Linked DNA regions of Homo sapiens: all the other regions are linked to region 4. Evidence: promoter capture Hi-C in 16 types of primary human blood cells and fetal thymus (Javierre and others, 2016). All regions are on one chromosome and are shown on one strand. The core of a region is centred on a gene start or on the middle of the fragment in contact, and the rest is flanking DNA. Distances in the headings are between cores, read along the strand shown. Region 1 holds the start of POLR3B (RNA polymerase III subunit B). Region 2 has its middle 11 kb from the start of TCP11L2. Region 3 holds the start of TXNRD1 (thioredoxin reductase 1). Region 4 holds the start of APPL2 (adaptor protein, phosphotyrosine interacting with PH domain and leucine zipper 2). Region 5 holds the start of HCFC2 (host cell factor C2).

Region 1 (6,055 bases), core at 1,852-4,351, 1.1 Mb before region 4:
TCTCTCTATAAGCCTATAACACACTGGGAGGCAGAAAACACATTTTTTGAACTTGTATAAACCCTGTGAATAATACACCACCAGGTAAGTACTCAGTAACACTGACAAATATTTATTCAACAAGTAACTGATTAATTGGCTCCAAAGCTTGTGTTGTTTCTACCATACTACCATGCTGCTGTGCTACCATAAGCACAAAAAAATACACACCAGGCATGGCCAGTTCAAGTAAAACTGAGCTCCTAACTAGAAAAAGTTGCAGCGAAAACACTGAAGTTGGAAAGTTTAAGTAAATATTTTAATATCTCAATTTAAAAGGAAATGGCAGCAAGTAGCAGAGATCTACCATCTTCTGGGAGAATCAGGAAAGGCCTTCCTAGGGAAGTTATATTATAGATATGTGGGATTTAATCTACAAATAGGAAGGGGAGAGCGATCCAGAAGAAACTGAGCAGAGTAGAAAGATCTCAGGGGAGGGAGAGGGGGGAACCATGGGAAAAGAGACTAGAGAAGTAAGCACTGGTCAGACTGAGGAAATTTATTACAAACATGGTAAACACTAGATTTTGCCCTAAGAGCAATAGGCAGAGATTGAAGAACTTTAACCAAGGGAGCAACATAACCATGTTTGTGTGTTTAAACGGACAGCTCTGGCTGCAGAGCAAGGAACAGACTGGATTGGGACAAGTCAGGTGCCAGGTAGGCCAGTTAGGAAGTAAGAGAGGACAGTCGTTCTGGGCTGGAAAACGGTGGGAATGAAGTTTCAGATATGCATAGATTAAGAACTCAGGACTTTTTAGAGGTGATGGTGGATTGGATACAGAGTGCAGGAAGAGGAACTGTTATTCTTCAATCAGAAGGCTGGAATTATAGCACTGTTCACTTCATAGCTGTGTAAATTCAGATAAGAAATAGAAATCTCCCAGGCTTATTTCTTCAGCTCTCTGGAGAAGCGGTCCGATAGCAGTTAGGGATGAAGACTCGAGTCAGACTGACAAGAGTCCAAATTCCAGATTAGCCACTACCAGGCTTCTAATGCAAGGCTATTTACTTAACATCTTTGGGCCTCTCTGGCAAAATGGGGGTGAAAATAGTACTTATTTCAGAGGATTAAATAACATAATGCATGTTATGGTTAAACAGAACCTGGCACATTAGCAAGTGCTCAGTGAATGCTGGCTCTTTGATATTCACTTTTCACGGTTAAAATACAGTTTTGCAGCCGGGCACGGTGGCTCACGCTTGTAATCCCAGCACGTTGGGAGGCCGAGGCGGTGGATCACGAGGTCAGGAGTTCGAGACCAGCATGGCCAACACAGTGAAACCCCGTCTCTACTAAAAATACAAAAATTAGCTGGCGGTGATGGTGGGCGCCTGTAATCCCAGCTACTTGGGAGGCTGAGGCAGGAGAATTGCTTGAACCCGGGAGGCAGAGGTTGCAGTCAGCCGAGATTACACCACTGCACTCCAGCCTGGGCGACAGAGCTAGACTCCGTCTCAAAAAAAAAAAAAAAAAATAGTTTTGCCTGATGATCAGCAGCCTATTGCATGCACTTATAGACTGAATCTGTTGGAACTGCTAATTCAACTTCCTTAACTTGTCAAACTATTATAAAGAGGTTTTGTTTTGTTTTCCTTGAGACAAGGTCTCAGTCACCCAGGCTGGAGTGCAGCAGCACAATTACGGCTCACTGCAGCCTCGACCTTCCAGGCTCAAGTGATCCTTCCACCTCAGCCTCCTGAGTTGCTGGGACAAGTGCACGCCACCACACCCAGCTAATTTTTGTATTATTTGTAGAAACAGGGTTTTGCCATGTCGCCCAAGCTGTTCTCAAACTCTTGAGCCCAAGTGATCCGCCCGCCTTGGCCTCCCAAACTACTGGTATTACAGGCCACCACGCCTAGCCAAGGAGGTTCTTATAATCCGATAGACTTACTGATCATGTCACTTTCCTGCTTAAACCCTTCAAAAGCTCTGCTCCAAGACAAAGTCCAAGCTCTGTCAGATGTTTATTGAAACTTTTCATAATCAAGACCCTTACTTAACCCTGTCTTTTATCTCTTCTCCTCTATTTTTCTTCACTCTAATACTACTGGATTTACTTTCCTTCCTCAAAAACATCCAATGGTCTTGCCGAGGAGGTTTCAAGTATCCTGTTCTCTTTCCCTGAAATCTCTCCTTTGCTATCTTCTCCGGCCACGTCTCCACTTCCCTATTCCACGTCAGTGTAGATTTTGAGGCTCAGAGAGATTACAAAATGTGCCTTATCAGATAACAAAATATGTCGACAGCCGCACTTCACTGGGCAGCTCGCTGTGGGGCAGCTGTCCTTAACTTCCGAGAAGCTGATGAAAGCTGTGGAGTCTCTCCCCCAGAAAACACACAGGCAAATTCTTTAGTAAATATTGAGGGCGTTTAAAATTCCCCTGCAACCCAAACTGGAACTTCAAGTTAAAAGGAAAGATGACTAGCTTGGAATTCAGACGATCTGGTTTTACCCCCACAGCCGGCTGTGGTGCCTCATGCAAATGGCCTGAGCTCCCTGGCCCCGTGTCCTCTGTAAGACTGCAAACATGCAATACGTCCCCCACAGTAAGTGCGAGGGTCAGTCCTCCCCACGCACACCTATGCTGGAAGAGCTCCAACCCTAGAGCCAGCAGCGGGGCTTCTCGGCCCCCGCAGCGGCTGACAGCTCCTCTGGGATCAGCCTTCACTCGCGCACGCGGAGGCCGGCTCTGGAAAAAAGACTCGCAAGCGCGACGCTCTGGGCATGCGCAGAAGCCCGGCGCATGCGCACAAACCGCCAGCCCGCCCCCTTGGCGGCCCGAGCACTCCGGGCAACGCCCCCTCAGGGCGCATCCTTGTCCCTGACGCTCCCTGCGTGCCTGGCACTGACCTCTACAGTCGGGATCGGCGCCGCCAGCTGCTCCGGAGTCAGGTTCCCAAACTCCTCCGCTAGCACGTCCATGCTGCTCACGAAGGAGGAAGAAACAGATAGAACCTCCGCGCCCGCCTTCCCTGCACCAAGCAAACTGCAAGACTCCCGGCGAACGGTGCGCGGAGGCCTAAACTGTCCCCGCCGTGCGTGTTAGCTAGAGACGCGGTAGAAAGGTTCCGCCCGCTCCCTGCCCGAATCTGCGGTGGAACCCGGATGTGGCCGAGGCCGAGTAAGGAAAGTACGCCCTCTGGTGTAGCTCGGAGGTCTGGCGCAGGGAATCCTAAGCCCCAGCTGTCAGGTTTCTTGCCAATTCTCTGGTAATTGAGACCAGCAAAACATAGTGGTTGTCATTTTAAAAGTAATCCGAAGAAAAGTGTAAACGCATAATTTACGCAACTTGAACCACTGAGGCAGAGAATTATTTAATGTAGTCCAAAATTCTATGCATTGTTTAGTATGGAAGAGCAGGAAACGTCCCAAATGCCTACCAATAGAAGATTGATTAAATAAATGATGGTACATGCGTGTAATGGAAGAGTGTTGAAAATTCTCAAAAGCACTAGATGGAAGATGTAGGAGTAAATACCCAGCGCATGGAGAAATTTAATATGAAAAGATGACATTTACGTTAGTAGGGGAAGGATGGCCTGTCCAGTAAATAATGTTTGAAGAGCTGATTACCCATTTGGGGAAAAAATACATGTAAGTGAATCTTTTGTGGATTAAATATTGAAATGTTAACAAAAACTTAGAAGAAAATGTAAGTGCAGATATTCATAACATTGAGATGTTGAAGACTTTCAAGACGGCAACAGTCAAATCATAAAGGATTTTATAATCTAAACACGATTTTATGATTCCACGGAAAATTTTTAATTTTCTGAACAGATTTTAAAAAATCACCAACAAATAGAATTAATAAAAAATAAATTGGCAGAAGACAAAGGGCTGGTCTCTCTAATTTAAAATGAGCTCATACAAATCAACAGAAAGAAAAATCCTATTAGAAAAAACAAGGCAAAATGCACCAATTAATTAATGGGTACGGAGTTTCGGTTTGGGAAGATGCAAAAGTTCTGTAAATGGAGAATGGTGATGGTTGCACAACAGTGTGAATGTATTTAATGCTGCTGACCTGTACATCATTTTAAAGGGTTAAAATGCTAAGTTTTATGTATATTTTACAACGATAAGAAAAGTTATGAAAATTTGTAAGTACATATATGCTTTCCAATTTCTCCCTCATAAAGGTAGAACCCTTGCACCAGGTTAATTATTCTTATTTACTAAAGAGCTACTTAAATTTCAGTACTTGTATTTTCTTTTTTTTTTTTTTTTTTTTTTTTTTTGAGACGGAGTCTCGCTCTGTCGCCCAGGTGGGACTGCGGACTGCAGTGGCGCAATCTCGGCTCACTGCAAGCTCCGCTTCCCGGGTTCACGCCATTCTCCTGCCTCAGCCTCCCGAGTAGCTGGGATTACAGGCGTGAGCCACCGCGCCCGGCCGTATTTTCTAAGTATTGCACTGATATCTGAAATACGAGAAGAATGGAAAAAACACCAAAAGTAGAATCAACCCTGCCTTTGAAGTTCTTACAATTTACTTATTACAGAGACAAGATACAACTTGTGTCTCATCATTGTGCATTACCAGATTGCAACCAATTTAGCATCTAGCCTAGAAGGGACTGTGAAAGTGATTTATAGATGGCAGAGGATCTCAAGGTTGGCTCAAGTGTGTTGGTTGTCTGTGCCAAAGTCTTCTTTGCTTTCCATTATCAAGGTGATTCTCCGACTTTAGGGTGTATCAGAATCACCTGGAGAGCTTGTTAAACTAATCTCAGCTTTCTGATTGGTAAATTGGGGCTGAAATTTTGCTTTTTTGGTGGGGGGCGGGGATGGAGTCTTACTCTGTCGTCCAGGCTGGAGTGCAGTAGTGCAATCTTAGCTCACTGTACCCTCCCAGGTTCAAGCGATTCTCCTGCCTCAGCCTCCCGAGTAGCTGGGATTACAGGCGCGTGCCACCATACTCAGGTAATTTTTGTATTTTTAGTAGAGACGGGGTTTCGCCATATTGGCCAGTTTGGGCTCAAACTCCTGACCTCAGGTGATCCGCCTGCCTCGGCTTCCCAAAGTGCTGGGATTTCAGGCGTGAGCCACCGCGCTGGCTGCAAATTTGCATTTTTTTTTTTTTTTTGAGACAGAGTCTCACTCTGTCACCCAGGCTGGAGTGCAGTGGCTCGGTCTTGGCTCACTGCAACCTCAGCCTCCTGGGTTCAAGTGATTCTCCTGCCTCAGCCGCCTTAGTAGCTGGGACTACAGGCATGCGCCACCACACCCGTCTAAATTTTTATTTTTAGTAGAGACGGGGTTTCACCATGTTGGCCAGGCTGGTCGCGAACTCCATACCTCAGGTGATCCGCCTGCCTCGGCCTTCCAAAGTGCTGGGATTACAGGCGTGAGCCACCACTCCCGGCCTGCAAATTTGCGTTTCTAGTAAGTTCCCTGCTGTTGCTTTCCAGTGATTATGCTTTGGAAATCACTAACCTAAGACTTATCACTCAATGCCATATCCTCTTTTTATGTGTCTCATTATCCAGACTGAGCTCTTGGTACGGGAACTATCTTGTTTGTCTTTGTGTTTCCAACTTCTAACCCATCAGTTGTTCCTGAATATATTTGTGTTGAATGAGTGAGTTGAAAGAAAAAATGCAACGAATGGGTGATGTTTGATATTATACTCACTTTTTAAGAATCCTGATTGTTTTTAGTTTCTCTTCAAAAGCAGGAGGCTCTGGTAGCCATGGTCCCAAAGTCCTATACGGCAACAATCGGCTAATGCTGAACGGTGTTGGCCCTTAGACCATAGCTGCCACAGTCCCTCATAGTCCTTCCCCCAGATCAAATCTATAACTTCTTTCTGATACCCTAAGGGACTGGAGTTTTGAAACCAAGAAGCCAGGAACAGTCTCAGCATTTCTTTGTTTTCTGCTGCCATGTCCTTTTCCTGAGGTATTAGTACAAAAAGACCAGTGGTTTGAATAGAGGGGTGGGAAATTAGGGAAAAGAGATCACAAGGCTGGGCGCGGTGGCTCACGCCGCCTGTAATCCCAGCACTT
Region 2 (5,936 bases), core at 2,392-4,891, 1.1 Mb before region 4:
ACCTGTGGGAGAATTAAAAGAAATAATGTATATGAAGAGTTGAGCAGAGTGCCAGCGACATTGTATGGATCAGTAAACTGTAACTACTATTATTATACTCTTGTTATTTTAATGATTTAATATTTACAGTTTCGACAGGTCCTGGGCAACTTAAAGGTCTGTGACATGCGATAATTTAAAATTCTGCCAAGGAGCAAATTTGAATCTAATAAGTTGGTGGTACAGGAGCCATTTATTTACCTCACAAATGAGCCTAACACATCACCCAGTATTTATATATCAATGTGAGGATTACTATTCTCCACTCATTAGGCCAGTAAGTCAGATCCATTCAGGAAAATAATATAACTTTATATTGTGTTAAGAACAATGATCCAAAAACTTGGATAATTATCCAAACGTTATCCAAAGACTTGGAAATAGGCAAAAGGGATTACTGGATGTCCTTTTAGTAGGGTGCTGTGTAGTGCAGTGTAGTAGCAGACTCGTACAAGGATTCATGCATTATCTAGGACTGTGTACCTTTGTTGGACTTACTACTCGTTATTGGTTCAGATATTCCAGAACTTTGTAAAGGCAGATGTTACTTTATCAAAAACTGATAACAAGGGCCCAGTGTAGTGGCTCACGCCTGTCATCCCAACACTTTGGGAGGCCAAGATGGACAGGTTGCTTGAGGCTAGGAGTTGGCGACCAGCCTGGGCGACATAGAGAGATCCTGTATCTACAAAAAAAATACAAAACTTAGCTGGGCAGGGTGGCATGTGGCTGTAGTCCCAGCTAATCAGGAAGCTAAAGTGGGAGAGTCCCTTGAGCCCAGGAGTTCGAGGCTACAGTGAGCTATCATCATGGCACCTCAGTTTAGCCTGGGTGACAGAGACCCTATGTCAAAAAACCGAAAACCAAAACCCAAAACAAAACACCAAAAAATTGATAACAATGCAAATTATTCTTGTCCATTTCTAATACAAGTAAAATCTTTTCTGTTCTATAGAAAAGATAAAAGCTTACTATTTATTACCTTATAAGACATTAACCAATTTTGTGTCTAACCTAGTAATCTTATTGTAAGATTTTTAAAAATGCATTTCTTGATGGGATATATAAACCCCTATTTCTCAAATATTCCTTAAACCAACTTTACCATTTTACTGGCTAACTCTTTAATTGATGAAATAAATATTTTTTTAAGCCCGTGTTTGTTCTGTTTCATATAAGTCATGTTTTCAATTTGTTGAAAATTATACCTTGACAAATAGAAGTCAATCCAAGGGGCCACATAGAAGGAGCATGTAATCCAGAACTGACGACCCCCAGGTAGGCTTCCTAGAGAAAGGAGTAGCCAAGCAGATACATGTACAAGAAGTTCTCAAGTGATCTCAACAAAACAGATTCAGGCCCCTAAATCAGTATTTAGGTCAAATTCATTGTTGAAAAATAAGGCTGATATGAGCTTAACTGATAAGGAAGAAAATTGGAACTACTTAGCTAAAAATCTGGATTGGTTTAAACTGCTTCAGTGTTGCTTTTATAATTTTCAAAAACGGCAGCTCACTTTGGAACCACAGGTACCTGCGAACTGTGGGAAATTCACCATTCTTGCCAAATGAGGTGAGGAACTCAATTCACTTTCTAAATCTACATAGATGGTTCTGCGCCATTTCTTCAGGAGTCCAAAGCTGAACCATAAGCTTGATGTAGAGGGCATTGCAATGAGTGGCTTTCAGCCCACAGGTGGACTTTGAATTTGAATGCCACAAGCCCACCCCTCTTATATGTAGCCTACTTCATTCATTTACATGGTTCACCTAGCTCTTTAAGCATTTTTGCCATCTCCATGAAGAAAAGTAGGGCCCCAAGCATTGTTTTCACCCATGAAATCTGCTATGCATGACTAGATGCAAAAAAGCAGACTTCAGGAAATCTTTTAAATGTACAGCATGTATCACACATATCCTGTAATTATTGGAGGACATGAAAGTCACTCACTTCAGACTGTTCCTTGGGCACAAGGAATGTCTTCTACTCATGAATACAAGCAATTTAACTGTCTGAAGGCTGAACTCAGAGGCTCAAATTAATTGCCTGACTTTGGACTAACAAGGGTTTCAGGGTTTTTTTTTTTTCCTTTTAGCAGGAGGGGTTGTGCAAAAATTAAACTTCTCCTGAGCACCTAAAGTCTCCAGATGCTGGGCAGGTAGTGTTTACCAACACTCCCCTCAATAGCTGCCTCTTATTCTCAGACTACCTGATGGCTGAGACCACGATGTCTCTTTTGGGCAAAGTCGTTCTCATACTTGCTCCATAAAAGGGGAAAATACAGGTATGGGAGTTCCTCTTCTGGAGTACAGATCTGAGGCACATGCAGCTATGCCCTAACCCAAATACACCTCTTGGTCATGGGTGACGAGAATAGGAGATACTTCTGCCTGTGCATTGGAGCCTGCAGTGAGCAATGCTTGCTCGTGTTTGCCCCAAAACCTTTTTCAGACAATAACTCTTTATATCCATCTTTGTTTCTTTATTTTTTATTTATTTATTTTTTTAATTTGAGACGGAGTCTTGCTCTGTTGTGCCCAGGCTAGAGTGCAGTGGCACGATCTCGGCTCACTGCAACCTCCACTTCCCGGGTTCAAGCAATTCTCCTGCCTCAGCCTCCAGAGTAGCTGCGATTACAGGTGCCCACAACCACACCTGGCTAATTTTTTGTATTTTTAGTACAGATGGGGTTTCACTATATTGGCCAGGCTGGTCTCGAACTCCCGACCTCAGGTGATCCTCCCACCTTGGCCTCCCAAAGTGCTGGGATTACAGGTGTGAGCCACGGTGCTGGGCCTATATCCATCTTTAAATTAATCTATGTTATTTTGCACGGTGCCTGTGACATAGTAGTTTCTCAGTGCTGTATATACTGATTGGTAAGAGGACGTTACAGACACACTTCTAAATACTGGCTGGGAGTGCGGGAAGTTAGTTGGCAGGGACAATCACTGATTAGGAGGGAAGTTAACTCTGACGAACTTTGACTATAACTTCCTTTTTCCTTTTTTCTTTCTTTCTGCTTTGCCTGAAAATTAGGAAATAGACAAGGTAGTCAGAGGGGTCAGAGAGCTAATGGTGAAAATTAAGAAGAAAATATATTCCCTTCTCTCTGCTTAAATTGCAAAGGGATCTCTGTCCCTTTAAAGAAAATCAAAAGCTATATGACCGCAGAGATTCTTGAGGAAAATCTACATAGTTTTTCTGGAGACACGATAAGCTGAAACAAACTCCAGGCAAACCAAGAAAGATGAAGAATCATTTAGGACTACCCAGAATTCTGCAAAGTACGGTGATTAAGCAGTGTTTCAAACAATTACAGTCATGGTTGCTTAATGATCAGGATACACTCTGAGAAAGGCATCATTAGGTCCTTGTGCAAACATCACAGAGTGTGCTTACGCAAACCCAGGTGGCATAGCCTACTACACACCTAGGCAATATGGTCTAATCTATTGCTTCTAGGCTACAAACCTGTACAGCACGTTACCATACTGAATATTGCAGGAAATTGTAGTAACACTATGGCAAGTATTTGTGTGTCTAAACATATCTAAACATACAAAAAGTAGAAAAAATATGGTGTAAAAGATAAATTATGGTACATGTATCTAGGGCAGCTACACTGTAATCTTATGGGACCACCATCAAATATACTGTCCACTATTGACTGAAACAGTTATGAGATGCATGACTGTATAATTATTTACAAAGACACATAACAACATAAACATTTCTTTTGGGGAATAGTAGCAGGGTTGGGAAAAATAGCATACAGGCAGTGGAAAGAGGGTAGATTTATTAAAAAAAAAATCAACCTTCTGTTTGAATTGCAGCACTACTATCTAAATGCTGAAGGATTTTAGGCAAGCTGCTTAACCTTTCAAAGTCTGAATTATCTTGTCCATAAAATGAGAATGATCAGGCCTAACTAATTGGGAATCCTGTGAAAGTAAAATGAAATGAACATATGTAGACTATGTGCCAGAGAGTGACTTATCTACTTCCTTTACCTGCTGGTCACACAGCCTCCCTTATGGTTAGATATTGACTTACTACCGGATTTACTGGATTCTGGCCAGTGAAATAGGAGGGAAGTGATGGATGGATCTTCACTCACTTTCTTGGGACTCCAGATTCATTTTTTGTGTGTGACAGGGTCTTGCTCTGTCACCCAGGCTGGAGTGCAGTGGCACGATCATAGCTCACTGCAATCTTGAACTCTTGGGCTCAAAATATCCTCCTGCCTTGGACTCTTGAGTAGCTGGGACTACAGGTACATGCCACTGTGTCCAGCTAATTTATTTTATTTTATTTTATTTTTGTAGAGACAGGTTCTTGCTTTGTTGCCCAGGCTGGTCTCGAACTGCTGAGCTCAAGTGATTCTCCTGCCCCAAGCCTTTAAAAGTGCTGGGATTACAAAGGTGAGCCACCGCACCTGGGTGCCCTGGACAAAATTGTACCAATAAAATTGATACCATCACTGTTTCATTTATATATCTGGTTACATCTCTTCCTCCCACTGGACTCTGCGCAGATAGGTAATCTTCTTCATGGCTGTCTTTCTAGTGCCTGATGTGGTGTCTGGTACAAAATTTGGTTCTTCATAAATATTTTGTAAATAAATAAACAAATGAGCTACCCCAAAGCTGAGTCTTGAGGGGTGAGTTAGCTAGAAGAAGAAAGGGAGTCAGAGTGTTCTAGGTAAGGGGACAGAATGACAAAACTCAAAGAGGTGAGAAATGGCAGTGTGTACCTAGCGGGGAAAAGCCAGACTTAAAGAGCAAGAGGGATGATACATTTCGCATTATTTAGTTGATTTCTCTTTGTATAAGTCTCGCCAATCTAGTTTTTTCTTAATCCCATTGAAAACGAGGGGAAAAAAAGGCCAGGTGCGGTGTCTCACGCCTGTAATGCCAACACTTCGGGAGGCCAAGTCAAGCAGATCACTTGAGGTCAGGAGTTTGAGACCAGCCTGGCCAACATAGTGAAACCCTGTCTCCATTAAAACTACAAAAAAATTAGCTGGGCATGGTGGCTGCTGCCTGCAACCCCAGATACTTGGGAAGTTGAGGTAGGAGAATCACTTGAACCCGGGAGGTGGAGGCTGCAGTGAGCCAAGATCGTGCCACTGCCCTTCGGCCTGCGCAACAGAGCAAGACTCAATCTAAAAAAAAAAAAAAAGGGAGAGAGAGAGAGGAAGAAAAGAGAAAACTAGCTTTTGGTGTAATATTCAGGTCCTGAAGCAGTGGTTTTATACATTGGTATATCTTAGATATTCCTGCCCACCATGCTTCTGTTTTCATATTTCTCAGGATTTCTCAAGGAGATGAGAGAAAGCCACAGAGACCGATGTTTCTGCTTCCATACCACTTCCCTGAATCATGGACTCCATATCTTGCTCTCTTCCTCCTCTCATCATGTGTCATGTCACATACCTACTCAAAAACCATCAGTGGCTCCCCATTACTCCCAAGTAAAACTCAAACTTCAAGGCCTTCATTGATTGGGAAGCAACCAATTCTTTCTGCCTTATCTTCTAGCAAGCTTTCTCTAGTTATAATGATTGTGCAACAAATTAGTCCCTAAACTTAGTGGCACAAAACAACCTTTCATTATGCTCACAGATTCTTGTGTATCAGGAATTTGAACAGGATTCAGCAGGGAAGGCTTATCTCTGCTCCACAATGTCTGGGACCTGACCTAGAAGACTTGAAAGTGGAGGGTAAGAGTCACTGGAAAATCTCCACACTTGTGGTGGTGGTTGATGCTGGGAAGACTCCAGTAGCTGGGCCTCTGAGGCATCTCTCCATCTCGCTATGTGGCCTTTCCACGTAGTCTCTGCAGCCCAGTAGCTTCAGGGTAGCTGGAATTCTCACACATGGGTTCCCAAAGCA
Region 3 (5,653 bases), core at 1,011-3,510, 1.0 Mb after region 4:
AAAAATGTGGTGTGTGTGTGTATATATATTCCATTTTGTGTGTGTGTGTGTGTATATATGTGTGTGTGTATGTACATATACACACACACAATGGAATATTATTCAGCCTTAAAAAGTAAGGAAATCCTGTCGCATGCTACAATACAGATGAAACTCGAAGACAAGTATGCTAAGTGAAACAAGCCAGTCACAAAAAGACAGACACTGTATGATACCAACTTATATAAGCAATCTAAAGTAGCCAAATTTCACAGAAACAGAAAGTAGAATGATGGATACCAGGGGCTGGGGGAAACGGCAAATGAAAAGTTAACGAGTTGGCATGGAGTTTCAGATTTGCAAGATGAAAAAGTTCAGGGGATCTGCTTCACAACAATGTGAATATACTTAATACTGCTGAAAACTGTATACTTAAAAACGGTTAGGGTCAGCTGGGTGCAGTGGCTCATGCCTGTAATCCCAGCACTTTGGGGAGCTGAGGTGGGCAGATCACCTGAGGTCAGGAGTTCAAGACCAGCCTGACCAACATGGTGAAAACCTGTCTCTATTAAAAATACAAAATTAGCCAGGCGTGGTGGTGCATGCCTGTAATCCCAGCTACTTGGGAGGCTGAGGCAGGAGAATCGCTTCAACCTGGGAGGTGGAGGCTGAGGTGAGCCAAGATGGCGCCATTGCACCCCAGCCTGGGCAACGAGAGCGAAACTAAAAAAAAAAAAAAAACAAAATTGTTAAGATGGTAAATTTTTTTTTTTTAACCACACACAAAAAGAATGTAGCTAAAGAAAAACAGTAAATAAATGGAAGGACATAGATATCAAGAAGATCCTGAGGATGGCACATGAAACGTCAATTTGGGATGCACCTGCTCAAACTCCTTCATTGTACTAATGGCCACAAATTAGCTGCCTGACCTGGACCTTGCCTGACCTTGCTCCTACCCTGTTCCTTTATTCTTCCCTTCCCCTAATCCAAGTCCTTAACTCCAGCAGGATATACAGGCCTCCCTATCTCTAGCATGGTCTCACCGGCTGCTTCCCCTAACAAGAATGTTCTCCCTTCAGACACCTCTACCAAATCCTACCTCATCTATGGGAGCTGCCATCCCCACTTGGCTGTTTTTACCACTCCTTTTAGCCCTTCACCATATGCTGCCTTGTAACTAAACTGTAAGCCTTTGAAAGAGGCAGATCCTACAGCATTTAATAATTCTAGCCATTGGGCAAGGCACTTTTTGGAGCCTCACTTTCTCAAGCCTATAAAAAAGGTGGAGGCGGCCATATGACTATGACCAGGGCTTTTGAGTCAGATGGCCTCAACTGGTATCCCAGCTCTTCCACTTACTAGTTGTGTGCTTTGGGTAAGTTTTATAACCTCTTTGCTTCTCAGTTTCTTCATCTGTATAATGGGGTTTATGATAAATCTCTCAGTATGGCTGGAAACATGAACCAAGATTATTACCCATGTCTAGTGCTTCCAAAGGCCCCTCTCATGTCAGTGCTTAGTAACCACTAGCCATTATTGGCATTATCCGGACAATGGAGAAGAGACTGGGAGCTTTCTCTTCTGGAAGAACAAGTGAAAGGATAAAGCGGGATGATGGTGGGAGAAATGTGCCCAAAATTCAAGGGGATGGAGAAAGGGGGCCGGGAAGGCGTGTCGGACAAGATTCTCGATGGAGGAGGATGCTGGGAGTGGGCCGGGGGCTTCTGGAGAGGTGAAGGGGCACCCCCGGACTCGGCTGTCGGTTTGGTCGCTTCCCCCGTAACCTTTCATTGGAAACACGGTGCTTGTAGGAAGAGGACGCCCTAACGGGCCCTGAGCGAAATCAGGCGGGTCGCTGCCGAGATCTCGGTTCGGTTTCCGACAGGTTTCCGGGCAGGTCCTCGCGGCGGGCCCGCTCCTCCTTCCACCTCCCACCTCTCTCACAGCCAGCGGGCGGGGCAGCCCTCGGCCGGCCGCCGGCCTCCGTCTCCCGGGGTGACCTGGGGGAGCGTTTCTGGGGTCTCCAGCGTGGCGCGCGGTCAGTCACTGACTCCAGTGAGGGGCTTCAAGGCCAGGGCTCCGGGGCACTTTATCCCCAACCCCGGCCGGAAGGCCCGCTTCGGCCCGTCGACCTGGGGACCAGGCCTTCGCCCTCGGTCGTACCTGACCTACGGCGGCCATCGCCGTTCTTGCCTTTCGTCTGCAGCTCCGTTGGGGCGGCCGCCGCCACTGCCTTGCCCTCGGCGCAGCCCATGTCGCACAAGGCCCTGTGGGAACTGACGGAGCCGAAGGACGCCTGGCGGAGGCCGCGAGCCCCCTGCCGGCCGCGGGTCGGAGAACGCGGTGGGCGGGGCGCTCGGTGACAACAGCGAAGTCATAGCCCGTGTATCTTCTTCAAGGTCGTGAATTTTTTTTTTTTAACAGGAAAGAACGGTCGCTAAAGGTAAATTGGAAAATGCAGAAATGGAAAGGAGAAAAGAGCGCACCACCCAAAATCCTTATCCTTCGGCTGGGCGCGGTGGCTTACACCTGTGCACTTTGGGAGGCCGAGGTGGGAGGATTGATCGCTTGAGCCCAGGAGTTTGAGACCATCCTGGGCAATGTAGAGAAACCCTGTTTCTACAAAAAATAATTTTAAAAAATTTATCCTTCACACAAACTACTTTTGCTGTGTTTACTATTTCTTTCCAGTTTTTCCCCTCTATGCATAGTTTTGCATCCAGCATTTCACTTAATACTAGTATTTTCCATACTATCACATAGTCTTGTAAGCCTCCCAGATAACCACCTGGCTTCCACTGTCACTTCAGTCTTTGCCTCTTTGACCGTAGATGAAGCATACACTGAACATCGTAGTTTCTTTTTAATACACTTTATTTTTTAGAGCAGTCTTTTTTTTTTTTTTTTTTTGAGACGGAGTCTCACTCTGTCACCCAGGCTGGAGTGCAGTGGCGCGATCTCAGCCCACTGCAACCTCTGCCTCCCAAGTTCAAGCGATTCTCCTGCCTCAGCCTCCCGAGTAGCTGGGACTACAGGCGTGTGCCACCATGCCCAGCTAATTTTTTGTATTTTTAGTAGAGACGGGGTTTCACCGTGTTAGGCAGGATGGTCTCGATCTCCTGACCTTGTGATCCGCCCGCCTCGGCCTCCCAAAGTGCTGGGATTACAGGCGTCAGCCACTGCGCCTGGCCTTAGAGCAGTCTTAAGTTCACAGCAAAAAGACCATCCTATTTGAACAGAAATCTGATCACGCCCCCCTCAACTCTACCCCCACCCTTTACTTTACTCTATTTTATTTTTACCAGCACTGAGAGCCTTCTAACTTACCCTATATTCTCTGTCACCTGCTCCCACTCCCTCCGCCAGCCTCCCCACGACACCCTGCCCATGTAAACGCTGCCAAAATAGAACCTTTGCATTTTTTTCTTGTATCTTGGCCTTCAGCTTGGGCCAGGTGGCCTCCCCCACCTCTTGAAGGAAAGCAGGGAAGAAGCGGGAAAATATTAATTTGAATAATTATAATAATGTAATAGTCCATCCACTAGAGCTACTGGACGATTACATAGCCTATTATTAGATGTTTAGTTTGTTTTTTATTTTTAAAAATTATGAATAAGGCTGCAGGGAACATCTTTGTGTTTATAGTTTTAAGGCTGTCATTACACGTTGCCAAAATTGCTTTTTTGGAACTGTGGTTCCCATTTGAACTCCTACTAGTAATGAATGAGAGTGATTTTTTTTAACACCAAACCACATTGCGGCACATCAGGTGCACAGTCACTGTTCTCTATCAGTGCAGTGCTCTGTTTTTCCTTCTTTCAATTAACTAACATATGGTAAGCATCCAACTTATGCCTGGCTTTGTTTAGGGTTACAAGGTGACTCAAATTCCCTGGTCTCAAGGAACTTCCACCCCAGCTGAGATTTAGTGAACTTGTCTGGTCACCAGATGCGTGGCAATTGTGTGGGCCCTTTGTTTTCATTTGGGTTTGTGGACAAGCTTATATCCTGCTTCTCTGGAGAGCAGCCCAGAGTCAAAATGCTCTTGGAAAACACTGGGTGTTTATTTGCTTAAACACAGAAAACAAATAAAACTGAACCAAAGGCTTTTTTTTTTTTTTTTTTTGGAGATGGAGTCTCGCTCTGTTGCCCAGACTGGAGTGCAGTGGCACGATCTCGGCTCACTGCAAGCTCCGCCTCCCGGGTTCACGCTATTCTTCTGCCTCAGCCTCCCTAGTAGCTGGGACTACAGGCGTCCACCACCACGCTAATTTTTTTTGGTATTTTTAGTAGAGACGGGGTTTCACCATGTTAGCCAGGATGTTCTCAATCTCCTGACCTTGTGATCCACCCACCTCAGCCTCCCAAAGTGCTGGGATTACAGGCATGAGCCACCGTGCCCGGCCACCAAAGGCTTTTAATAACAGACATTGCACAAAGCTAAAGTAAATCTCTCTCTCTCTCTTTCTTTTTTTTTTTTTTTTTTTGAGATGGAGTTTTGCTCTTGTTGCCCAAGCTAGAGTGCAATGGCACAATCTTGGCTCACTGCAACCTCCACCTCCCAGGTTCAAGTGATTCTCCTGCCTCAGCCTCCCAAGTAGCTGGGATTACAGGCATCAGCCACCATGCCTGCCTAATTTTTTGTATTTAGTAGAAAAAGGGTATCACCATGTTGGTCAATCTGGTATCAAACTCCTGACCTCAGGTGATCCACCTGCATCAGTCTCCCAAAGTGCTCGTATTACAAGTGTGAGCCACCGTGCCCGGCCCTAAAGTAAATCCTAATAACAACTTCATCCAAGTGTTTGGTGTCTGTAGTAACTAATGCAACTAAGCCAGGACCCTTTAAAAGCAAAGTTCCCTCCCTCTGCGAGCCAGGTCTACAGTTCCTTGGTTCCACTGGAATGACTGTTTCAGAGATTTTTTTTTTAAATATGCTATTCAATTTATGTTAAAATTACCATTTTATCATCAAAATTCCAACTGTGGCTGTCATGTATTTTTCTCTATTTAGTACATGTATTTAACTAAGATGATGGCTTTCCTGTTATTTTAAACACCTAGGCAAAAGTATCTGAGAGTCATGTGCCTACCTGTGTCATCCTATCATATTTATAATAGCCAACAATTTGTTGGGTACTTACGGCGAGCCAGGCATCCTGCTAAGTCCTTTACTGGCATAAAAGTATGCTTATCTCATGTTTTTCCTGCAAGAGCCACATTTAGAAGGGTCTCTTATTATTCCTATTTTACAGAGGAGAATCCTGATGCTTAGGGGATTAATTGCACAGGATCACACAGCTTGATACTGAAATCCAGGTTTCCTAATTTCCAAGCCTCTGCTCTTAACCACTAACCTCTCTTATTACTATGACATCACACTCCACTAATTCCTATACATGAAAAGAATGTTTCCCTGGGAACTTTGTTTTGAGATTTAATTTTTTTAATTTTTTTTTTTTTTATGAGATGGAGTCTCACTATGTCGCCCAGGCTGGAGTGCAGTGGTGAGATCTTGGCTCACTGCAAGCTCCTCCCGGGTTCACGCCATTCTCCTGCCTCAGCCTCCTGAGTAGCTGGGACTACAGGCGCCCGCCACCACACCCAGCTAATTTTTTTTTATTTTTAGTAGAGACGGGTTTCACCGTGTTAGCCAGGATGGTCTCGATCT
Region 4 (5,740 bases), core at 101-2,600:
GAAAATATGGTAGATGGAGGCCATAAAATGGTTCAGGTCAGGTTGGCGCTGGCCAGACCAAGGGAATAATGGCCTTGGAGTTTTCAAGTGATCAGGCAGCATGCTACTATACTAGACTGTCAGAGGTGTCAGCAATGCAGATTGGGTCTTGATATACCTAAGAGGTCTCTGCAGAATGCAGAATTTATATATTACCATATCCCCTCTGTTGATTTTGGTGACACACATACTGCATGATTTTTTTTTTTTTTTTTGAGACGGAGTCTTGCTCTGTTGCCCAGGCTGGAGTGCAGTGGTGCCCTCTCGGCTCACTGAAACCTCTGCCTCCCGGGTTCAAGTGATTCTTCTGCCTCAGCCTCCCGAGTAGCTGGGATTACAGGCGCATGCCACCACGCCCGGCTAATTTTTGTATTTTTAGTAGAGACGGGGTTTCAGCATCTTGGCCAGACTGGTCTTGAACTCCTGACCTCGTGATCCACCCATCTCGGCCTCCCAAAGTGCTGGGATTACAGGCGTGAACCACCACGCCCGGCCAGTCTTATTAACTTCTAAAGAAGGAACTTCAGAAACCCTTGCCTTCCGTGTAAAAAGGTGTCACGTTCCACTTGCCAGTCTTCTTCCATCCCTCTCCCTTCCTTCTTTTCTTCCTCTGGCGTTTACTAACTGACCCTGGGCAGACCACTTATTTCTCTGGGTCCCATTTTCTCATCTCTAAATGACAACACTGGAACCTAGATTATCTAGCCCTTCCAATTCTAAACATTTGATTATGAAATTCTCCAAAATCACAAAACATAAACCAGGAGGACGAGACCTAATTATGACCACATCAAATAGCTGTGGTTTCCAAAGTGGTTATTTCTGATTATCACAGACGAGTCAGTTATCCAGCTTTTCTCCTCTTTTCTTTGTTCCCATAGCATAGGCGACCTCTTTGCTCTCAGAGCTGTTTCAGGGGCGTCGAAATTTATCTAGAAAAAGTGGTGTGGGAAGTGTGGGTTTTTCCTTCCATTAAAAGAAAAAATCTGTTCGCTCCTTCAACTCAAAAGGCTTTCTGGGTAGCCATAAGCAGATAAAACCTTATCTTTCTACCCTCGAGTTCCTCTTTTGGACTTCATATGCATTGACTTGACGGACCTTCAGCACAGAGAACAAACACCCGAAGGGTTCCCTCAGCAACGGGACTGGCACCCAGAGCCCCCCGCTCCCCGCGAGCCGGCGAGCGCAGGCGGAAGCGCGGGCGCCACATTTCCGGTGTCGGGACCGGAGCTCACCACACTTCCGGTTTCCCTGCCGGGCGCGCCACACTTCCTGTTGATCCGGCTCGGCCGGGGGCTGGGCCGGCGGGCAGGCGGCGGCGGCCACTGGCCAGGCGTGGACGCGCGCGGGGCCGCCGCGGGCACGGAGTGGCCGCCGCGTCGCCTGAGCCCAGAGCCGGGGAGTGCTCTCGGCCGCCGCGTCTCCTGCCCTCTGTCCTTCCAACCCAGCCCTCGGCTGAGCCGCGCCGCACCATGCCCGCCGTGGACAAGCTCCTGCTAGAGGAGGCGTTGCAGGACAGCCCCCAGGTACCTCCCGCCGCTCCGGTGCCCCTCGCCCGCAGGGGTGAGGCCGAGGAGGCCCCTCCAGCCCCGGAGTGGAGGCCGCGCCCCCGGCCGGGCAGCCGCGGGAGTGCGCCCGGCCCCCTCGCGGCGCCTCCCACCGGGTTCTCTCGGGCTGAGGAGGGGGCGGGCCGGGCCCTGAGTCCTGAGCCGGGGCAGAGCTGTGGAACAGGGGAGAGAGCCCCGCGGCCGGAGTCTTGATGTCGTGACCCCCCTGCAAGCTCAGCTGCAACTGAGTCTGCGAGATCTAAACTTTGATTCCATGTAGTAGCTGAGTGCCTCAGGAAAACCACCTTATTGTGCCTTAGTTTTGTCGTCTGTAAAATAGGAATAATAATTGTGCCTGCTTCATAGGGTTGTTAGGAGAAGTCAATGAGAAATACCTGTAAAGTTGTCAGCAGACAATGTCCGGTACAGATAATGAGTCAGTCTTATTACTGCTACTCCTAATGATGTGATGAGACTTGTGCCAGCCAGAATGAGAGGCAGAGGGCCTGGATCTCTTTTCCGGCGGTACCAGGCCTCCTTTTGGCACCGTTTTCCCATTAGTGAAGAGAAAAATACAGTACCTGCCCCATTTGTCGCACAAGGGAACTTCATTAGCACACTCGAGATGAGAGTCAAGTCCTTTGAGCTCTGCAGATGAAAACTGGTGTGTAAATATAGCAAATGAGTGCAGGATGACATTAGTTCATAATTCAGCACATCTTTCCCCAGGGGTCTTTTGTTCTCCTTTGTTTAACATTTCTCCAGCTTCGTACCTACACTCCTGGTTCAGCATCCCGGGTTTATTTAAATAAGTGCCTTTATTTCCTAGTGTCTCAACTCTTGAAAACTTAGAATAAGATTAACCTATTTTCGTTTCACACTTTCCCCTCTCTTTTGGGGTTCCTTCCCTTTTTCTTCTAAGTGAATAATACTTCCCAGGATGATCCTTGTATGGATTTACCTACATCGACAGTTCAGAATAAGTCCGAAGGGCTGTATGCATAGGTGTCTTTTGTTCATTTTTTGTGATCCTCCTAGTGTAGATAAGTAAGGAACTGGAAGCAAGCTGTGTGTGTGTTTTTTGTTTGTTTGTTTTGTTTTTTGGTAAGTTTGCATCCTCTGGACGACTTTTTCAAGGCCTCCCTTTTTTATATGGCTGTAGACTCCTGGCATTTTAATCAGACTAAAGCCCTTGGTAGAAGGCATTTTGTCCATGTTCATATCTGTTGTGTGGAATCTGAAGATAGCAATGTGAGATTTTAAATGATCACTTTGAACAAGGATCTCTGTTTGCCTTGCACTTATGGAAACTGAGGTGCACAGAAATATCCTGCTTTTCTAACCTACATGGTGATGCCTAAGCCAGGTTACAGTGATTATACTAACTGATTCTTGATGTTGTCCTCACAAACAGATCATATTCTTAATTTCCAGCTCTAACATAAAGGAATATACACTGTTTGTGAGTGGCTTAAAGGATTTGCCCAGCTGTGAGGAAGTAGACAGGACTGTAGAGCAAGTCAGGAGACCTGGGTTCTAATTCTGGCTCTCACGCTCACTTAGGATGTGATGTGGGTGAGTCTCTTCATCTCCACCCTGTAGCTGGCTCAGTTTCCTAATCTACAGAACATCTACAGAATGAGAGACAGGGAGGGAGCAGGTGATCTTCAAGGTGCTTTAGAGTTAACATTGTCATATCTACATGGTGTATAACTTTGAACTTGTATGTGGCAGAGGAGGTTTAGAGATATTATCATTCTTATTTAATATGTTCCTTTTAATATAGGAAGTTTATTTGTCATTGCTTTTGAGACTTGGCCATCACCCTTAAGAGGGCTCTTGATGGTGCTGTTGTGCAGAATGGAAGCTGACTTTAAGAAGGTCTTTAATGATCATCAGAGCATATTTATATACTACTCTCTTGTATGTGACCTGTGCCTAATGTAGCTTTACTCCCAAGGTGACTCCTAGACTTGGAACTGGAAGGAATCTAATCCATCCCCTTCATTTTATGTGCAAAGCATAAAAACAATAGCAAATGCCTGTTTCATGGATTTTATGTGCCAGGGACTCTTCTAAATGCTTTACATATATTAACTCACTCAATCCTCCCAATAGTCTTGAAGTACATTCTCTATTTAAATAACTAAGGAGCAGAGAAGTAATTTGCTTAGAATTATACACCATAAAGTGACAGAGCCAGGACTGGAACCCAGGCAACTTGCCTGTACTAGGGATATGGTTCAAGTTAGCCCAGCTATCTAGCACCGGGCTTTTCTGTCATCAGTGACCTAAAATGTTTCACTAAAAGGAAAAGATCCTAATAAACCATCTATTGTGTGTTTCTTCTAGTTTTATGAAGAGTAATTTTGAGAGTTGCTTCAGTAATGTGATTGCACAGGATGAATTAAATGAACACCAAAGCTTTTGTAATTGAACTGAGTGACCCAGGAAGAGCTGAATAGCAGTTAACTGACCTTAGACACATCTATTCATGGACTCCTTTTTAGTTTGCAGTGCTGCACGATGCATTGTAAAACTAGTCTGTGTGCATACACATGCGTTATTTCTGCTTACCTCTCATATGTGGGAAGCTGAACATTTTAGGGATTAAGAAATCTGCCTCCATTGTTGTTTAGAAGCCTCTGCTCCTTGCCTGGCACTACTGGCTGTTGGGAATGTGAAGATAAATAAGAGTGACTACCCTTGACTGGTTCACAGTTTGTTCCAGAGACAGATAATGAGGCAACAGTTCCAGTACAGTGTGAATCCTGCTGCGATAGGAACACAAATGCAGCTTTGAGCTCCTGCAGCTTGTACTTCTTCAGGGGCTTATTCTCTTGTCCTGTAAGTAGTACACTTTTGAGGTAAGGTGAAGACAACAGCACTGTTGCTTGCTCGGTTTGTGTTTTGTTTGTTTCTTTTGCGATTGGCATAACGGAACAAAGAAATAAAAGATGTAGTTCTGAGGTTATGCAGTTGAGTGGCCCGGCTGGGAGCAGCCCTCTCCAACCAAATCAGGCCTTTCTTTCCTCAAACAAGATAATCTCAAAACATAACCTGGTGGTTTTATATGTCTTCACTGTGGAGATGTTTTGTGCTGTTCCTCTTTTTGTTTATAACCTATTTTTCCTTTCAATAGACTTGGTTCTTTTTTTTTTTTTTTTTTTTTTTGAGACAGGGTCTCGCTTTGTTGCCCAGACTGGGGTGCAGTGGCATGAACACGGCTCACTGCAGCCTCAGCCTCCTGGGCTCAAGCGATCCTCCCACCTCAGCCTTCTGAGTAGCTAGGACTACAGGCATGCATCACCACGCATGGCTAATTTTTTAATTTTTGTAGAGACAGAGTCTTGCTGTGTTGCCCAGGGTGGTCTTGAACTCCTGGGCTCAACCAATCTTCCTGTCTTGGCCTCCCAAAGTCTTGGTTCTTTTCACTAGGACATTCTCTTCCTCCACCAAATTATGGAGATAAGAACTTTGTTTATAACCTTAAAATTTTCTCAGTAGTCAGTGGTGTTAACATTGGGCCACTACACAATTACACACACTATTCTTGAGAATGTCTAGGAGTGTTTTATTAGGTAATACCCAGTTTCTTTAAGGTAAAGGAGTGATAGGGAGCTGAGGCTGTGTGCATAGGGTGCTTGGATTTGTTTCTCTGGCCGAGCATACCCTTAAAAGTGTCGGGCAGTAGAAAATGGATGGAATTCCACTCCTGAATCTGCTACTGTTACTTTTGGCAAGTTACTCAATCTCTCTGAGGTTGTGTTTGGAGGTATGTAAAATAAAAATAAAAATAGCTATTTAGTTGAGTTGTTAGGAAGAACAAGTAACATATGTAAAGTGTCTCCATGCTGGCATGCCATAGTAACCCCATAAATGATTGCTGTTGTTATCTTTGTAAGTGAGATATACCAGTGTCTTTCTGACCGTGTCTTTCTGACCGTGGGATTTTGAGCTACTGGTGTGCCTTTGCTTTATTCTTGGTCTCATTCCTTCTTTATGTCTCAGAATATCTCTGTTGTTCCAAACCAAAGTTTGAGCAGACACAGTATAGTAAATGAGGATAGCCAGTGTCCAAGGTAGCTGGTTATATTTTTTCCAGAGGTGATCACTGCCAAGTTAAATTAAAAAGGGAAGACCAGAGTTTCCCT
Region 5 (6,031 bases), core at 479-2,978, 1.2 Mb after region 4:
TAATATTCTGGTACCATCACAGACAAATCCATGGGCAGCACAGCCTGGAGGGATATCTCCTCTAACAGCTGGCAGAAACCACTGATTCGTAGCTAGTTGCCAAAATAAAATGAAAACCGATTATAACAAACAACGGTTATCATATACTATCAGCAAATATATATCATCAATATCAGTGGGTCTCAACTGGGGATGATTCTGCCCCCCAGAAGACATTTGGTAATGTCTGGTGACATTTTTAGTTGTCACAACTGGAGGGGGCTGTTACTGGCATCTAGTAGGTAGAGGCAGGGATGCTGCCAAACATCTTACAATGTACAGGGCAATACAGGGCAGCTTCCCCCAACCTCAACAAAGAATTACCTGGCCCAAAAGGTCGAGAGTGCTGCTGTTGAAAAACCCTGATCTGTATCATTTAATTCTTACAAAACGCCCTGCTGGGTGAGTATAAAAATCTCTATTTTACAACTGAAAATTGTGAGGCTTAAAAAGGTTTGGTAACTTTAGCGCTGATCCTGGGCAACCGGCAGAGCAAGATTCAAATCAGGTCTAATTTGTTCCAAAGCCAGGGATTTTACACTAAGACCAAAGTGTCAGTAACTTTTTACCTTCATATGCTGGGGCGCTGGGAGGAGGAGAGGGTGAAAAAAATAAAACTTCTCAGACTCCACTATTTTGTTAACCTTCAAATTATTCCTGTGATTAAGTTGTTTGATCAAAGAAAAGTTATCGGTCATGAAGTAGACCCAAAATTCCATCACTGTCTTTACACCAAACAGATTTCTTGTGACAGCCTGAGCATTTACAAGGGGAAAAAAAAATTAAATCCAGTTTCCTTTCTATTCCACAGAGGTCCTCAAAGATAGGGGCTCCCTGCCCAGGGGCACTTGTGATCTGCAGTGGTGCTCAAGTTATGACAGTCCTCTTTCCGAGGGCCAGTCCAGAAGGGCGTCCACACCGAGTATGCAGACACAAGGCCGCCTCACCACGTCCCCGCCGCTTTAGAGCGCGGCTCACGGAGGGGCTCTTGACCGTTACCTGCCAAACACCGGGTTGTATTTGAGGCGAGAGTGCCAGAAGGCCTCTCGTTTTCCCTCCTCACCCCCTAGATGGTCTTCCTCCTAAGGAAGGAAGGCAGGCAAAGACGGGAAAGGCCCTAAGGAACTTTGGTTTGGAGTGGGTTTTGTTTTTTGACAGAGGCGAGATTTCGGGGAGTGGCCCAGGCGGTTGGACATGGTCTTCTGTCGCCTGCGTCCGCCTGTCGGGCTGGGGTGGGGGCGTCCGGGATCCCCCGCCTGAAGGCCGGTGCGCCCCGCTCGGGGTCCGTTGCGCCCCAAGGGCCCCGGAGATCCTGAGCTGCGGTCCGGGACAGAGCTGCCGGACCCGGGCTGCCCGGCTGAGCCGCGCTCCCCGCCGCCCGCCCAAGGAAGCAGTGACCGGGCGGTGACAGCTGTCAGGGCCGCGGCCGCCGCCTCGCCTCCCCTCCCCCTCCGCAGCTCCAGCAGGCGGGGCCGACGAGCCGCCGCCGCGCCTACCCGTGTTGTAGACGTGCAGCTCATCCGCGATGCCCTCATTTCCCCCTCCAAAGATGATCATCAGCTCCCGGATGGCCACCGCTCGGTGTCCGTGCCGGGCGCGGGGGACCGGCCCCGTGAAGGAAGAAACTCGCCTCCAGTTGAGGAGGCTGGGAGCCGCCATCTTCCCAACCCCCGCCCCTCTGCCCACAATGCACCGCTCCCGCCTCAACCGGCTGCTCCCTGGGGAGGGCGGGGACCCGCCTCCAGCTGTGCTGGGGTCACGTGGCCGCGGGCGCCGGCGGCCAGGCTGGAGGCCCGCGGGCAGTGGAGAGACGCTGGGGAAGGGGGGTCCTGACAGGGGAGCCCCGCCCCCACCCCAGGCGACTTGGCCAGCGGCCACCCGGAGCAACGCACCTTAGGGTGGAAGGACGCTTCCCACTGACCACGTCTCCCATCCCCACCCAGAGCCTCCCGTTCGGTATTTTGGGAAGAAGCCACAGCATCTTCCTTTACGTCCACTTTAATTGAGCATCTAGGATGTGTGGGCGAGGCAGTCTCACAAGCAACGTGAGAGAAGCTCGGGTAGAGGTTCGAAGAGCTGGGAGCGCAGGGCGGGGACCTCGCACGGGAGGGTGCGGGCGGGAGCCTGCCTCGCGAGCCCGGGCCACGGCGGCTGCTCCCGACCGTGACTGGGACCCGGGCAGGGAAGGTCGCTACAAAGCCTGCCGGGCGAACCGAAGGCAGCTTTGTGCGGAGCCATGCCAGGAAGCTTGGGAACCGTGAGCCACAAGAGGTATTTTTGGTTTGTTTGGCTTAAGCAGAGGAGAGATGGTTTTCTAGGTTTCTGTTTCATTGCTAGCTAACAAGTGAGGGCTGTCCACAGCCTGGCATGCCCTAAGTGCCTCATGTGTATTAACTCATGTAATCCATCCAGCAATCCAGTGTGGTGGCTCCTGTTATCTCCCTTTCATGGACGGGGAAATGAGGCACAGTGCAGTAAGGTAATTTTCTGATGGACACAAAGGAGAGGTGTTGAAAAAAAAGACTGGGGCCAGGATTCCAACACAGGGCTTCTGATTCCAGAACCCCCAAGCCCTTATATCATATACCATACTGCCTCTGATAGCAGTCATATCCAACCATTATACCATACTGCCTCTGGTAGCAGTCATACGCAACTCTTTATTTTTATTTATTTATTTTAGATAGGGTCTGGCTCTGTTGCCGGAATGCAGTGGCGCGATCAGAGCTCACTGCAAGCTCGAGCTCCTGGGCTCCAGTGATCCTCCTGCCTTGGCCTCCCAAAGTGCTGGAACTACAGGCATGAGCCACCGCACCCAGCCAATGCAACACTTAATAAGGCCTAGCTGCCCTGTGATTTGGTCCTACACATAATCACACAAGTCCATTAGGAATAAAACTGCACTGCATATGGGATTCATGCCAAATGAGTAGATTTTAGCCACTCTTGCCACAGAGACACAAAAAGGGTTGGTGGTAACTATATGAGATGATGGATATGTTAATATGCTTCACTATAGTAACCTTGTGACTGCCTGTTTCAGCTGTCCCCAACCTTTTTGGCACTAGGGACCGGTTTCATGGAAGACAATTTTTCCACGGACTTGGCAGGGGAGTGGGTGGTATGGACTTGGCAAGGGGATGGGGGCTATGGTTTTGGCATGAAACTGTTCCACCTCAGATCATCAGGCATAAGATTCTCATAGGGAGTACACAATTTAGATCCCTCCTATGGGCAGTTCACAGTAGGGTTCGAGCTCCTATGAGAATCTAATGCGCGGTTGATCTGACAGGAGGCAGAGCTCAGGAAGGTCATGGGGGTTCCGAACAGGCCGAGGACTGGTTGCTGGGGACTGGGGACCCCTGGTCTATATGATATCAACTTCATATTGTATATCTTAAATATCCACAATACAAGTTATTTTTTAAAATTTTAATTGAAAAAGGACTGGGCATGGTGACTCACACCTGTAATCCCAGCACTTTTGGAGGCTGAGACAGAAGGATCCACTGATCCCAGGAGTTTGAGACCAGCTCGGTCAAGATGGTGAGATCCCATCTCTATTTTTATTAAAGAGAGATAAATAAGAGATACAAGTCCAGTGGAAGAAAAAATTGAAAGCAATTTAAATCCCTACCTCAGATTCTCAAGAGGTACTCAAAGGAGAACACAGACACTGTATAGTAAATTTCCTAAAACTCTTTTTTCCTCTTATTTTACCATTTTCAATTTCTCTTATATGCCTCATTCACCCAACTCCCTTAAACCTCAGCATGCTTCTCCACCTTCTCATCTATCTAAGCTTTTTTTGAGAGATAACTCTCTATGTTTTAAAAAGGAATTCTCAGGACGGGTGCGGTGGCTCACACCTGTAATCCCAGCACTTTGAGAGGCCGAGGAGGGCAGATTACCTGAGGTCAGGAGTTCGAGACCAGCCTGGCCAACATGGTGAAACCCATCTCTACCAAAAATACAAAAATTAGCCGGGCGTGGTGGTGCATGCCTGTAATCCCAGCTACTTGGGAGGCTGAGGTAGGAGAATCACTTGAACCTGGGAGGCAGAGGTTGCAGTGAGCCAAGATGGTGCCATTGCACTCCAGCCTGGGCAACAAGAACAAAACTCAGTCTAAAAAACAAACAAACAAACAAAAACCCCAAAAGGAATTCTCACTATTTTTTTTAGCTTCTGCTTCTTAAATTCTCCCTCTCACTGAGTATTAACCCATTTTTTTTTTTTTTTTTGAGATGGAGTTTTGCTCTTGTTGCCCAGGCTGGGGTGTAATGGCGCCGATATTGGCTCACTGCAACCTCCACCTCCTAGGTTCAAGCAATTCTCCTGCCTCAGCCTCCTGAGTAGCTGGGATTACAGGCATGCACCACCACGCCTGGCTAATTCTGTATTTTTAGTAGGGATGAGGTTTCTCCATGTTGGTCAGGCTAGTCTTGAACTCCCAACCTCAGGTGATCTGCCCACCTTGGTCTCCTAAGGTTCTGGGGTTACAGGCATGAACCACTGCGCCTGGCCAGCCCAATTTCATAATATGTCCAAAGAGAATTTGGAAAGGGAGGGAGAAATAAGATGTCTGCGAACAGAAAAGAGGTTATGAATATTTATCTATTAATATTTTTCTATGTCACATACATAACATAGGAGGCTCTTAAATGTTGCCATAATAAAGTTTTTATGGATTTGAAATAAAACTGGAAGAGTTGGAATAAAGCAGTGAGTTTTTCATAAAACCCAAAGTGTTTAATTTAAAGAACTGTACTTTGTTCTGAGAGTTTTGTGCCTAGATGGTAGTTTTTTTCTAATGCCCTTATAGCACAAGGTTAAAGGAAAAAATCAAACGTTCCAACCCTAATGTTGAACTTCAAATTTAAAAAAACTAGTCTATGATATTTGAAAGCCCAAGTACCCTTGAACTAGGAGAAAAATTAAGGCAAAATATTTTTAAGACAAAAGAGATTGCAAGCTATAACTGGTGGCTTAGATAGGGAGCTGCAGGGTGATGAGGAAATGTGTACTAGTTTCCTAGGGCTGCTGTGAAACAATAGGAATGTTTTGTTTCACAGTTCTGAAGGATATATAAGTCTGAAATCAAAGTGTCAGTAGGGCTGTGATCCCTGCAAAACCTGTAGGAAAGAATGCTTCCATGCCTCTTTCTAGCTTCTGGTGGCAGCTGTCAATCCATGGCAGCCCTTGACTTGTCAATGAATCACTCCAGTCTCTGACTCCATCACATCATCACGTGGTGTTCTCCCTGTGTGTCTGTCTCTTCTTTTTTTTTTTTCTTTTTGAGACAAGGTCTGGCTCTGTCATCCAGGTTGGAGTGCAATGGTGCGATCTCAGCTTGCTGCAGCCTCCACCTCCCAGGCTTAAGTGATCCTCCCACCTCAGCTTTTGGAGTAGCTGAGATTATAGGTGTGCACTACCATGCCTGGCTAGTTTTTAAATTTTTTCTAGAGATGAGGTTTTACCATGTTTCCCATGCTGGTCTTGAACTCCTGAGCTCAAGCAATCCTCCTGCATCAGCCTCCCAAAGTGCTGGGATTACAGATGTGAGCCACTGCGCCCAGCCTCTTCTCCTCTTATTATAAATTCACTAGTTATATTGGATTAGGGCTCATCCTGTGATCTCATCTTAACTTGATTATATCAGCAAGGATCCCATATCCAAATAAAGTCATATTCATAGGTACAGCGGGTTAAGGCTTCAGCATGTCTTTTGGGGGAGATACAATTCAATCTATGACAAAGTACATAATCCAATGGGAAAGATGTTTTAGTAGAGCAGTTTTGAGTAATCTGTCCTTGAGGGAGGCATCTAAAATAGGTCCCCATTTCACAGTAAAGTACCTTCAATCTCTGAAACTTCAAGAATGTAGTTTGGAAACAACAACCTAGGAGGAGAGTTTGGAGAAGAGGGATGGAAAATAGCACCCTGAAGAAGCCAGCATTGATGGGGTAAAGACAAGAGGAGGCACTCATGAA

Evidence for each region. Contacts are between HindIII fragments. The CHiCAGO score rates a contact against its expected background, and 5 or more counts as called.
Region 1: the fragment with the promoter of POLR3B here is called in contact with the fragment with the promoter of APPL2 in region 4 in 1 of 17 cell types (neutrophils); the score reaches 6.4 in neutrophils.
Region 2: a contact is called between a fragment that was not itself captured here and the fragment with the promoter of APPL2 in region 4, in 1 of 17 cell types (M0 macrophages). The highest score is 6.5, in M0 macrophages.
Region 3: the fragment with the promoter of TXNRD1 here is called in contact with the fragment with the promoter of APPL2 in region 4 in 10 of 17 cell types (naive B cells, activated CD4 T cells, monocytes and 7 more); the score reaches 10.6 in naive B cells.
Region 5: a contact is called between the fragment with the promoter of HCFC2 here and the fragment with the promoter of APPL2 in region 4, in 6 of 17 cell types (monocytes, neutrophils, total B cells and 3 more). The highest score is 10.8, in monocytes.

What each region holds. Positions count from the first base shown.
Region 1 is chr12:106,354,794-106,360,848 of GRCh38, reverse strand. It overlaps POLR3B (RNA polymerase III subunit B), which reads right to left and starts at 3,101. Exons shown (of 28, transcript NM_018082.6): 1 at 2,898-3,101. The coding sequence starts at 2,969. The HindIII fragment of the contact is 8,226 bases long and covers 150-6,055 here.
Region 2 is chr12:106,288,996-106,294,931 of GRCh38, reverse strand. No RefSeq gene overlaps it. Among named protein-coding and RNA genes, the nearest start is that of TCP11L2, 11 kb to the left of the region's middle. The HindIII fragment of the contact is 3,895 bases long and covers 1,694-5,588 here.
Region 3 is chr12:104,212,386-104,218,038 of GRCh38, reverse strand. TXNRD1 (thioredoxin reductase 1) reads right to left here and starts at 2,260. Exons shown (of 17, transcript NM_001093771.3): 1 at 2,146-2,260. The coding sequence starts at 2,236. RefSeq lists enhancers at 1,252-1,867, 1,868-2,484 and a silencer at 2,308-2,397. The HindIII fragment of the contact is 5,942 bases long and covers 1-3,984 here.
Region 4 is chr12:105,231,784-105,237,523 of GRCh38, reverse strand. It overlaps APPL2 (adaptor protein, phosphotyrosine interacting with PH domain and leucine zipper 2), which reads left to right and starts at 1,350. Exons shown (of 21, transcript NM_018171.5): 1 at 1,350-1,565. The coding sequence starts at 1,512. RefSeq lists an enhancer at 967-1,467 and silencers at 1,332-1,471, 1,522-1,771. The HindIII fragment of the contact is 6,549 bases long and covers 1-4,012 here.
Region 5 is chr12:104,060,228-104,066,258 of GRCh38, reverse strand. HCFC2 (host cell factor C2) reads right to left here and starts at 1,728. Exons shown (of 15, transcript NM_013320.3): 1 at 1,536-1,728; 2 at 1-92. The coding sequence starts at 1,698. It also overlaps a transcript of GLT8D2 not described here. RefSeq lists silencers at 1,352-1,491, 1,712-1,881, 1,863-2,032, 2,042-2,201, a cis regulatory region at 3,609 and an enhancer at 3,525-3,694. The HindIII fragment of the contact is 6,452 bases long and covers 1-2,288 here.